Regions from separate parts of the Homo sapiens genome. Here region 2 is linked to region 1. The links are contacts of gene promoters, found by promoter capture Hi-C in blood cells and fetal thymus (Javierre and others, 2016). All regions are on one chromosome and are shown on one strand. Each heading gives the region's core, a stretch centred on a gene start or on the middle of the fragment in contact. The rest is flanking DNA. Distances are from core to core; before and after follow the strand shown.

Region 1 (6,489 bases), core at 1,532-4,031:
AATAACATTTTGGCAAGTAAAAGAGGCATGTCTGTCATAGAAGAAATAAAAAGGCAACCTGGAAGAACAGAAAAAGGGAGGACTAGATAGAAATTAGTTAACTGTCTAGCTGGGCATGGTGGCAGGCACCTGTAATACCAGCTACTCAGGAGGCTGAGGCAGGAGAATCGCTTGAACCCAGGAAGCGGAGGTTGCAGTGAGCCGAGATCATGCCATTGCACTCCAGCCTGGGCGACAGAGTGAGACTCGAGGGCAGTGATCACCTAAATCAGTGTTTTATCAACCTTTTAAAATTATCATCCCCCTAAAGAGCCTTTCTAGACATTTTTTCCTGCTAATTCTCCCATACCCTTACCATGAAATTAAATGCTCAGGAGTGATTGTTTTGGTAAGGTTAAGCTTTGGAGTTCCACAAACTAAAAAGAGTGAGATTGTATCAAAAATTGTTTCAGTCCTCCCTGAGTTCCCCACACCCTGGGGAGCCATGTCGCCCATATGAAGAACTTGTAGCCTAAATAAATCTTATATGGGTGTATTCATAGAGTAGTTTTCCTTTGCTTACATAGCACATATCTACTATGCCAACCTCTTGTTTTGTAATATGCTTTTCTTGGATCCAGCCTTAGAATCCCAAGAGATATCTTCGTCAACATTAACTGTCATTACTATAACATCTAGTCAAGAATAGTCTAAATGGCTGGGTGTGGTGGCTCACGCCTGTAATCCCAGCACTTTGGGAGGCTGAAGTGGGTGGATCACTTTGAGCTGAGGAGTTCGAGACCAGCCTGAGCAACATGGTGAAACCCCATCTCTACTAAAAATACAAAAATTAGCCGGGCGTGGTGGTGGGCACCTATGATCCCAGCTACTGGGGAGGCTGAGGCAGGAGAATCACTTGAACCTGGGAGGCAGAGGTTGCAGTGAGCTGAGATAGCACCACTGCACTCCAGCCTGAGCGACAGAATGAGACTCCATCTCAAACAAACAAAAAAGTCTAAATGTCCTCAATTCTGTCCGTGTGTGGCACTAGTGAAGTAATTTCTGGCAAATGCTTTATCAGCATTTTCTTTCCATAGTTTATAGAGATGTTCATCCATCTTTTCATTTAGTCATTCAGTAAGTATTTGAGTGCCCATTATGGATTAGGCTTGGGTACATAGTGGTGTGATAAAGTCTCTATCCTTGTGGAGTTTAAAATGTAGTTCAACTTGTTTCTCCTCCTTTATCGCTAAAATACAGATTCTAGCCATCAGTGGTGCTATGGTCACCATGAAATTCAGGCTACAGAAATTCCTTTGGAAATGTCTGATTTAGACATTTATCACTTTCAGATGTTTTAGCCATGAAAGAATCTCATGGATTTATTGAAGAAATATGCTATGGTCAAGGACAAGGTATTGGCTCTAGAAGCCAAATTACTAGTCTTTATCCTGGCTTTTTATTTGTGAGAACATGGAGAGTTGTTTCAACCCTAGGAACCTTGATTTACTCTTTAAAACAGAGAAAATGGGCTGGGCGTGGTGGCTCACGCCTGTAATCCCAGCACTTTGGGAGGCTAGAGAGTCAGATCAGTTGAAGTCAGGAGTTTGAGACCAGCCTGGCCAGCATGGTGAAACCCCGTCTCTATTAAAATTACAAAGATTAGCTGGGCCTGGTGGCACATGCCTGTAATTTTAGCTACTCGGGAGGCCAAGGCAGGAGAATCTCTTGAACCAGGAGGTGGAGGTTGCAGTGAGTCGAGATCCCACCATTCCACTCCAGTCTGGGCGACAGAGACTCAAAAAAAAAAAAAAAAAAAGAGCAGAGAAAATGATAAACAACTTGCAGGTTGTTGTGTGGTATAATGGTCATTCATTATTTTCTACTCTTTCTGGTAAAGAGTTGGTGTGTCATGGAAAGTACCTGTTCTATGTGTGTGTGTCTGTGTGTATAATTCGGTGTGAAAATTAAAGAGAAAAAAACAATAAAAAACCCTTTCCTATACTTATGTGTAAATTACCATGGTGTGCTGCAAAAAACATATGTCAAGGTGATAGAATTATTTTGACTTTCCTGTACAGTTATAAAATGACTCAGTGAGTTTGGTTAGATATCCTCGTTCTTTGAATCTATATCCTTGTCTGCTTATGATGAAAAAAAAGAAAAAAAAATAATGGCGAGGGTCTTCCAAACTCTAAAGAATATGTCAACTATGATACAAGTAGCAGTTAGCCTTATAACTAACTGTAAACACTGTCTGTGGGTTTTAAGTTTTACCTGAGCATTGGATATTAACAGACCATTAGCCCAACTTTCAAAAATATGAACCCTATGAACTTCACAACTGAAGTCAGATCTGTATGCCTGAGAGAGGTAAAATCATGTCATGAAATCAAACGGTGGCTGATGCGCCCAAATTCTGGCCTCATCCTCTAACTGGAGGACATCTGGCAGGACAGCAACTGGGCTGTGCCTTTTTTCAGTCCAGCAACATCTTCCACTCAACCCACGCCATTTGGCTGTTTCCCCATTGCCCCTGGCACCTAGCCCTCCGGTACCGGGAACTAAATATCTTTGACCATCCCGCCCGCGGGGTCTGCCTACTTAACCTGAGGCAGGTGAAAGAGCCTCACGCAGGGTTAGGAACCTCCGGGGGCGTGGCGTAGCGTAACGCAGTGTTGGGGAAACTTGCGGCTGTGGATTGGGGGACCGGAAAGGGAGGGGTGGGCCGCAGGCGCCGGACGTGACGTAAGCCGGAAGCGACTTTCCGCCGAGAAATAGGGGGCGCGTGTTTGGAAATTGATAGAAAAGATAAAGGGACCGAGCTGCTGTCAGCCTGGCTTACTGATCTGCGTCCGTTTCACCACGGATTCAGTTACTAAGCATTTTTTTCTTTTTTTGGTTCTTTGCAACGTGAGTGGCATTGGCTCAGTGATTTCCATGAGCATCTCTACCAGAAAACATTGCCTCGATGAGGTGTGGTGGAAGCCCGGCAGCCCCTTCTAATCGGCTAGGCTTGAGAAAGCGTGTACCTCTGCATTTCCGAAATTAACTCAGCGTGATCGGCAAGATTTTCCTCAGCATCTGGTGTCAAGACACTCGTCACTATTAATTCGGAAAGAAAAAAAAAAACAAAACACCGTTTTCCAGCATTTCTCTTGGTGGAGAACTAAACAACAGGAAAAATGTCTATTTTCCCTAAGATATCTTTGAGACCTGAGGTTGAAAACTATCTTAAGGAAGGCTTTATGAATAAGGAGGTAGGTCAAGTAAAGATGTTAGTTGATATTTTGCAAAAACTCAAATATTCGCACACTCGAGAGAAATAGAAATAAGTATAAAGGGAAATCTTGACAGCCGTCGTTCCTTACTACTTGTCTATCAAGTGTAAAAATACCAATATGTTTCTACAGGTATTAAAGCTTACTGAGATACGAAGTGAATAAGGTATATGTTTTAACATTTAGGAGTGGAAAAGAAGGGAAAAAAGGCATGTGCCTGTCAGGCATGGCACAAAGGGTTACAAGGATGAACAAGAAAAGGTCCCTGTCTTCAAGAACTCGAATCGAATTTTAAAAGAGCGCTGGCTCTGGCACTCAGGTGAAAAGGTTTCTGTAATTTGTTGAGTGCCTCTTAAATGCCAGCAGTTGTGCTAGGAGATTTGCATCTTTAATCTTCACAATCTTTTTTTTCTTAGAGGTTTTTCCTCTTTTAATAGACTTGAGCAGAAAACTGCTCAAGGAATTGTGTAACTGATCCAAGTTGACACAGCTATCAAGTAACTATTGAAATCTGGAGGGAAAGAGTTCAGGTGTAATGAACAAAGGTACAGCTTTTGAATCTCAGGCACATGATTTGCATTCTAGTGCTTTGTAAATTACGTGGCTTAACCTAGATTTTTCTCTTCTGTGAAAAATTGAGAATGGTTAAAAATATCTTGCCAGGTTGTTTTAGGATATTAAACGTAAGTGAATACAACTAGCATTGTTTTGGCATGTAAGTCCTCAAAAAATGTTAATTTTATTTGCTAAAGTCCTCAGTAAATGTTGATTATCTTTGATTGCAAAGCCTGTTGTCTATTCCATTTTACCATGCTGCCTCTAAGCAACTTTGTTTTTTTTCAAATCTTTAATTTTTTAGTCAAGTTAAAAATATTTTACCAGGTTGTTTTAGGATATTAAACGTAAATGAAAACAACTTGCATTGTTTTGGCATGTAAGTCTTCAAAAAATGTTAATTTTGTTTGCAATTGGCAGTGCCTGCCACAGAAGTCCTCAGTAAATGTTGATTGTCTTTTATTGCAAAGCCTGTCCTCTCTACCACTTTACCATGTTGCCTCTAAGCAACTTTGTTTTTTTTGAAATCTTTAGTTTTCTTAGTTAGAGTAACACCACTTAAATGTTACTCATTTTTGAATATGTTATTGAAGCCATGCCTTTTAGATTTGATTTCTACGTTTCATTTCCAAAGATTAGCTTGAGGTACTAGACTGTATGGAAAGAGAAAATATATTCTGTTGATTTCAAGGGACTTAAAATATAAGGCACATATTAGGAGAAGTAGGGGCATACCACAATTTTTTCAGCAGATTTTAAAATGGAGAACGTCGTTTTATAAAGAAGATCCAAACGTCTTTCTTTGACACTGCCTCTGCCTCGAGTCTCATCAGTGGTATGGTTTTACAAAATGAAAAGCTATGCCTTTGTGAAAAGTACTGAAGGGAAAGGAATATTAAGTTTTATGCCTTTTTTTTTTTTTTTTGAGACAGGGTCTCCCTCTGTTGCCCATGTTGGAGTGCAGTGACATGATCACAGCTCACTGCTGCTTCGACCTCTGGGACTCAAGTGATCCTCTCACCTCAGCCTCCCGAGTAGCTGGGACCTCAGACAGGGGCCACCACTCTGGCTAATAATATTTGTATTGTTTGTAGTGATGGGGTTTCACCATGTTGCCCAGGCTGAATGTTCAGTTTTGATAAGACTAAACCTTGAGAAAGTATGAATACTTTTAAGGCTGGTGCATGAGTAGGCTAACAAGTGGTTTGTGAAGATTCTGTAAAGCAGGGTTTAGTCAAATAGGAAGACAAAGAAATACGTTTCTTGAAAAGCTTCGGTTAATTACAAGGGAATATTGTTGAGTCTTTATACCGTCATATTTGACAGGTGTCTTTGCTACTCATCTTTTTTGGATAATATATATTTGTTACATTTAATAACACCATATTAAAAAGCTGATGTCCTAGGGGAATCTTTATATGACAGTGACTATATCAATATTACTTATTTTTTAAATATTGGTATTTTAAAAGGATACCAGCCAGTTTGCTCTTGGATATGATGTTAGCTAATTAGCTAACGTCCAACTAACTTGGATATAATGCTAGCTCTACAGAGATGCTGTAATGGTAATGCATTATAAATAGACTGAATTCCTGAATTTATGTGAATAAATGTAGCAGATACTAATATTTGGAAAATGTTCATAATGCTTTGAAGTTTAGGCAATGTTTTTCTAAGCCCTTTATTTCAGGCATTTTCTTAGGTGTTTATTACCATGTTGAAGCCCAAGAACCCCGTGAAGTATTACTATTTCCTTAGTTGCTATTAACATATAAACAATACAGCAAAATAGAATGGAGCTGAACAATTGCTAAGCGATGTTTCATTAGATGGAATTAATATATAAGGATGCTCTGCTGACTGTTTTTAATTCTCAGGAAATTTAAACATGAACTTCTTTTTAGATTGTGACTGCTTTAGGTAAACAAGAAGCAGAAAGGAAGTTTGAAACTTTGTTAAAGCACCTGTCACATCCTCCATCATTTACAACTGTCAGAGTGAATACACATTTAGCCTCAGTACAACATGTGAAAAATCTGTTACTTGATGAACTTCAGAAGGTTTGTGGAAATTTTCTGTCATTTGTACATAATTACATTTTTGCAATCTACCATGTTTTCCATTAAAATCCTATGAATGATATAATACACTTCCAGTTTTACAGATAAGGAGATTGAGGACCATGAATGGTAAATTCTTCAAAGTTATCCTAGGTGGTAATGCTAGAACTTGAACCTAGTACTTCTGATTCTAAATTTATTCATTTTTGGTGACTAAAATAGCTCATTAAACCCCTCTGGGCCGCATTAAACTGGGCCTTAGTAGCTTCATCATTAAAATACATGTGAAGAAGTCCAGTCTAACCTTAAAAACCTGTGGCTTTGTGATAAGTAGCATATAATGACCAGGAGGACAGATGGTATAGCTGAGATAATAAGCCCAGGGGTAAGGAGGTACATACTAAGTACCTGTGAGATTATATTGTTAATTGACATAAAAAAATAGATGTTGGGCCAGGCGTGGTGGCTCATGCCTGTAATCGCAGCATTTTGGGAGGCTGAAGCAGGTGGATCACATGAGGCCAGGACTTTGGGACCAGCCTGGCCAGTATGGCGAAACCCTGTCTCTACTAAAACATATAAAAAAATTATTCGGGCATGATGGCACATGC
Region 2 (6,447 bases), core at 3,698-6,197, 6.1 Mb before region 1:
ACACACAATCATTCCTGCCCACATTTCATTGCCTAGAATTTAGTCATGGCCACACCTAGACACACCTAGATAGAAAGTCTAGCTTGTTAACCAGGTGCCTAACTAAAATACTACTATTATAGGAGAAGGAGAGAACAGATTTGGGGGAACATTTAGCAGGCTACCATAGTATATCTTTGAAAAAAATTTTTTTTAGTTTCATTAGTTGTAAATTCTGTCAGAGACATCAATTTCTCTAAATCAGATTTCTGTTGTCTTCTATATTTTTCATCTCCTGTCTAATCACTTTAATCTTTGTCCTTTTCCTTTGTATTTGATGTGCTTTAAAACAAATCTGTCATCCATCCCACAATTTTCTGCTAGATATTTCTTATTTTTATTTTTTAAAAATAGAGATGAGGTCTCACTGTGTTGCCCAGGCTGGTCTTGAATTCCCAGGCTCAAGTGATCCTCCCACCTTGGCCTCTGTGCTAGGATTACAGGCATGAGCCACTGTGCCCGGCCAGACATTTCTTATTTCTTCTTATTTCTAATTCATGTATTATTTCTGCAACGGTATGATTTTTCCCTCTCAATACCTTCTCTTAGCCATTCTAACATCTTTTATATTTCATTCATTCTCTTGTGATTTCACTTTTGATATATTTTATTTTCTTCGGGGTATGAAACATTTGTCTCTATATTTCTTCTGCTTACTGGGGTTAATCTTCTTCCATAATATATCTTTTCTTTTTAGAATATATTCCTTTATTTCATCTCTTCCCCAATATCACAATTTAAAATGTTTATGTCAGTCTTATTTCCTTTTCATTCATCTTTGATGAATATTTACTATCTAAAATTTCTATTTATATTGAAAGAAACAGGGTGGATGAATTATCTTTGAGGACCCCAGGCTTCTTGTTGGATTCAAGCAATGAGGAGCCACAGAAGAAAGCTGGAAGGAGGCATGAGAATGGGTTCGTAAAATGTGGTATGAGATTGGGCCCCTTCATAGTTTTAGTGTTTGTTTTTTTCTTTTTTACTTCGTAATTTTTAAAAATTAAAATATAATTGAAAAAATCTTTGAGGAGAAAGGTTATGTAAGCCTGCCATCTATCCTACTTAAGCCCAGATGTGAATTACCACATATTGCCCTGCGATCTTTTCCTATCTGAGGGAAGAAGCCTTGGTTAGTTGACTTTTGGATTAATAAGGAATGCAAGCAATTATAGGGATAGAGGAATGGAATCTACAGTGCTAGACAATATTGAAAGATACTCAGAGTTTCTTGAATCAAGGAATAGAGAAGTCTTTAGGTGTCTTTCCTGATTCTGCTCAATGACAATGAAAGGGAAGGCTAGAACTTTTTATTTTTTTTGATGAAAAGATTTGATTACTTTGGATTAGGCCTATGATATTAAAAATCAACTGCTAGCACAGTTTCCTAGTTAAAATGTTTGGAATTTAGCATTCTATTCCAAAATGATAAAAACATATTTCAATTCTCCAGTTGTAATATGGGTTTCTCCAGATTGCACTGTATTTTCACAATGTTCCAACTCATATTTAGTTGGGTGGGTGGAAACATTTTAAAAACTAGTCTCATATTTTTAAGGAAAGTTGGAATACTTATAAATGAAAGTCACGATTCTTAGGATAAAATAAAAACTTGCACATGGATTTTTTATTCATATTTTTTCTTAAAACATATAAATAAACTTAACAATGTTGATGACTATGACTAGCATACCACTAAATTTTAATTATGGAAATTCTAATGCTGAATAATAATTTGGATCTAAAGAAAACTTTTGATATATGATTATGGATAAGCTTTGGGGTGAAATTTTATAGTTTCTACCAAAATGTAAGTGATATTAATTTTTAGGATGGTCTTATGGCTGAAAAACAGCTAAATCGCTGGCAGTGAAGTTTATTTATTTATTTATTTGAGATGGAGTGTCACTCTGTCAACCAGGCTTGGCCCTGCCTCCCAGGTTCAAGCAATTCTCCTGTCTCAGCCTCCTGAGTAAGCTGGGATTACAGGACCGTGCCACCATGCCCAGCTAATTTTTGTAGTTTTAGTAGAGATGGGGTTTTACCATGTTGTCCAGGCTGGTCTCGAATGTCTGACCTCAAGTGATCCACCCACTCGGGCCTCCCAAAGTACTGGGATTACAGGTGTGAGCCACAGCGCCTGGCCAGAGAAGTTTCGATAAGGAGATAAAATGTGGCATTTCCGAAAGTTGAGGCCCATACCAAGTGTTCTCTTTGTGGATACCTCTTATAATTTACACTCTTTGTTTTAGGCATATTCACATAGGCCTATACATATATCTTCCTGTGACCTGTACTGTTATTGGACCTGTACAGCCAGGAATTTCTTGAGGTATAAATATTTATCAATAATAGTGACATAACCATCTTTTATTTCTTGAATAATTCTGTAGTAATTTCTATGTGTAAAAGATGTGGTAGATATTGTGGGGATGTGAAAGTAGTAAAAGCTCCAGGAATCTCCTCTAGAGAAGTTTATAATCCAGATTAAAAAAGGAGATAATATTTAGCTAAATAAGATTTATTATTTTTTTCCCACAATATATCCGTGTAACAAAAGAAGATTGTTTATAATCAAGTAACAGCAACAAACAAACAAACAAACAAACCCAAAAATAAACACCAGTATTCTAGTCCAGAGGAGGAAAAGATGACAATAAACTGAGGGCAGATAAATTATTCAAGAATATTTATTGTGTGTGGCACTTTACTAGGCATTGTATATAATGAATTAAATAATGTCATTGCCTTCTAGAAATTAATCATCAAAGATAGTAATCATGTGGAGAGAAATAATAAGATACATATTTAGCAAATGCAGAACAATAAATTAGTAAATCATTTACATTATTTGTTTAAAAGAGATGAAGGAAGAGTCCTAGAAATTGCTGATTGTGGAGAATCATTCCCTTCTCTCAATTACAATAGTTAAATGCCTTGCAAGTGTGGTGGGATTTCTGTAGCTATTCAGTTCAACATGAAAATCTTTTGCTTTTTTTGTCCAGGCATGGTGGCTCACGCCTGTAATCCCAGCACTTTGGGAGGGCGGGGTGGGTGGATCACCTGAGGTCAGGAGTTCGAGACCAGCCTGGCCAACATGGTAAAATTCTGTCTCTACTAAAAAATACAAAAATTAGCTGGGTGTGGTGGTGCATGCCTGTCGTCCCAGCTACTGGGGAGGCTAAGGCACGAGAATCCCTTGAACCCAGGAGGCAGAGGTTGCAGTGAGCCAAGATCACACCACTGCACTCCAGCCTGGATGACAAAGTGAGACTCCGTCTCAAAAAAAAAAAAAAAGTCTTTTGCTCTTTCAAAGTAATATTAGCATGTAATGTGTCTTTTTGGTAATGTGTGAATAAGAAATAAACAAAACAAAACCCCTTACTCTTCTGAGGGCTATTGGTCTTAACGTAGTTTTGCAAAGGCTTCAACCCAAATTGCAAATTTCATTTGTGGATTCACTAGCAAACACTTGTGCTTCTCAGATGTGCCAGCTTCTGTTAACATATTCAGAGTAGAAATCATTCATAGATTATCATAGAATGGCCTTCCACACCAGGGGCTGGGATACTTTGCCTCTATTTTTGGCTTTGACATTTTTTCCCTTGATATTGGTTCACCAAAACAATATTATGTCATTAGCAAAGCCAACACTTACCTTTTAAGGATACAGTTCTCATCTTCATAAATGTCTTGCCTAGATTTAGTGTATAAAGCTTTCTTGTAGTTTTTATTAATATAGCTATAGTAATTTCAGAGGCTATTTCAAAGGATACTCCAAGAAGTTTGATTATAGGAAACCCACACATTTATTAGCTATACTCTAAGGAGGAAAATAGCCTTTCAAAGCAAACAAAGCTAGAATTACTGTTAGCTCTTGCTTATCCATGATATTTGAGGATAAAGAAAACTATCAAGATAGCAACCAGTTAGTTTCAATCTCCTTTCAGTTACAATGGCCCCAAAACCTATTGTTTCACCAAATCTCTCACTGAAACTAACACGTAGCCGCGTGACTGAAGTTTGGCCCCCTTTCCTTTCCCTTGCCCTCCCTCTGGTGGAGGTGTTTACAAGTGAGATGTCCACGATGGGCAGCTAAAGAGAATTCCAAGGGCTTGCACCCTCCACCAATTACGCCAATTAGCCTTTGGAATGGAGAAAAACCAGCTGCAGGCTTCCTCTTTCCAGATGCGTGGGGGGCCACACTCACTTTTTGGTCTGGTCAGAAGGCATCCAAATGATGACCAAGCGCGGTGGCTCACGCCTGTAAACCCTGAACTTTGGGAGGCTGAGGCATCATTTGTTCAAGACCAGTCTGGGTAACGTGGTGAAACCCTGTCTCTACGGGGTGGGGGCGGGGAAGAAAGAAAAATTACCCGGGTGTGGTGGCATGTGCCTGTAGTTCCAGCTACTCAGGAAGCTGAGACACCAGAATCCCTTGAGCCCAGGAGGCAGAGGTTGCAGTCAGCCGAGACTGTGCCATTGCACTCCAGCCTGGTGACAGAGTGGACCTCATCTCAAAAACAAAAACGAACAAAACAAACAAACACAAAAAAGCATCCAAATGAGAGCTGATATTAAAATATTCTTGTTCATGGCTTCAGAAAGGAATAGACCTAATTTTTAACTGGGTTCATATATTCCTAAACAGTATCAATAAAATGTTATAAACAGTAGGGTTCCTGTTGGGGAAATAGTACAAACTTCTGCTTTATAGTAATATTTTATTTTTTGAGATGGAGTCTCGCTCTGTCACCCAGGCTGGAGTGCAGTGGCGCAATCTCGGCTCACTCCAACCTCTTCCTCCCGGGCTCAAGGGATTCTCATGCCTCAGCCTCTCAAGCAGCTGGGATTACAGGCACGTGCCACCACGCCAGGCTAATTTTTGTATTTTCAGTAGAGAAGGGGTTTCACCATGTTGCCCAGGTTAGTCTTGAACTCCCGGCCTTAAGTGATCCGCCCGCCTTGGCCTCCCAAAGTGCTGGGATTACAGACATGAGCCATCATGCCCAGCCCATAATATTTTGATTGAAATAATGTTTTTTACGTTTTAAAAGTGTCTTCTGTTGCCCAGGCTGGAGTGCGCTGGTGTGATCAAGACTCACTGCAGCTTTGACCTCCTGGGCTCAAGCGATCCTCACACCTTAGCTTTCCAAGTAGCTGGGACCACAGGCATTGGCCACCACACCTGGCTAATTAAAAAAAAATTTTTTTATAGATATAGGGCCCCGTTATGTTGCCCAGGCTTGTTGAACTCATGGGCTCAAGTGGTCCTCCTGCCTGGGCCTGCCAAAGTGCTGAGATTACAGGCATAAGCCACCGCACCTGGCCTTAAAATTTCTTCACATCTATTATCTCATTTGATTCTCTTTAACAGTCCAGCAAGACAGGGAGGATGCTGTTACAACTCAGAGGTCCTGTAGAAGCCCAGGACACAGGTTTTTCAAATCTTAGCTGTGTGCCTTTGCACTTCTCCGTACAGATAGCCTAATACACTTAAGATACCTAAGATAGTAACTTATCATAACAGTTCTTAAAAACATTCCCAAATTTTAGAACATCACAATTATATTTGTCCCAGGAGTAGAGTTAAATTGGCACTCAAAGACCACAATAATTCACACATAGTAAGTTAAGTGTTAGCTGTTATTATTAAAAACCCATATTAAGAGGTAGTACAGTGATTTATTTATTTATTTATTTATTTATTATTTTTTGAGACACAGTCTGGCTCTGTTGCCCTAGCTAGAGTGCCACACTTGGACAGGGCTCACTGCAGCCTTGAACTGCTGGGCTCAAGCGATCCTCCTGCCTCACAGCCTCCTTTGTAGCTGGGACTACAGGCACATGCCACCACGCCCAGCTAACTTTTTGTTTGTACAGACGGGTCTCCCTATGTTGTCCACGCTGGTCTCAAACTCCTGGACTCAAGCGATCCTCCCACCTCAGCCTCCCAAAGTGCTGGGATTACAGGCATAAGCCACTGGGCCCAGCCTAGTATAGTGTTGTGAATAAAAGAATGGACTCTGGAGCCAGATCCCCTGGGCTTGAATCCTTGCTTCACCACCCACCTATCTCAATATGTTGTGTGTAAAGCTTTTAGAGGAGTACCTAGCAGGAGGTATTGAATTTGATAGCTCTAGTACTTAGACACATAAGTCATAATTTTCCCTAAGTTACGTGGTAAATGATGGAGTTGGATTGTAATCTTGATCCTTACATCTTATTACCTCTTATAGAAATATTGCCTCTCTAGGTTATGTTATTTTTCCATAATTCCTAGAATGTGTTTTCCTTCCTTTTCCTTCTCCTTTCATGGCCCACATTTTACTCTCCTTTATCAAACTGAAAATTTCACAATCAACATTTAAAAAATTTCTAGTGCAAAAATTTTAACCCAAAAGTCCT

What was found. Contacts are between HindIII fragments. The CHiCAGO score rates a contact against its expected background, and 5 or more counts as called.
Region 2: a fragment that was not itself captured here is called in contact with the fragment with the promoter of NSUN6 in region 1 in 4 of 17 cell types (naive CD8 T cells, total CD4 T cells, activated CD4 T cells and 1 more); the score reaches 8.8 in naive CD8 T cells.

What each region holds. Positions count from the first base shown.
Region 1 is chr10:18,647,879-18,654,367 of GRCh38, reverse strand. It overlaps NSUN6 (NOP2/Sun RNA methyltransferase 6), which reads left to right and starts at 2,781. Exons shown (of 11, transcript NM_182543.5): 1 at 2,781-3,239; 2 at 5,723-5,878. The coding sequence starts at 3,165. RefSeq lists an enhancer at 2,542-2,641. The HindIII fragment of the contact is 3,002 bases long and covers 402-3,403 here.
Region 2 is chr10:24,725,700-24,732,146 of GRCh38, reverse strand. No RefSeq gene overlaps it. Among named protein-coding and RNA genes, the nearest start is that of ARHGAP21, 5.0 kb to the right of the region's middle. The HindIII fragment of the contact is 2,380 bases long and covers 3,758-6,137 here.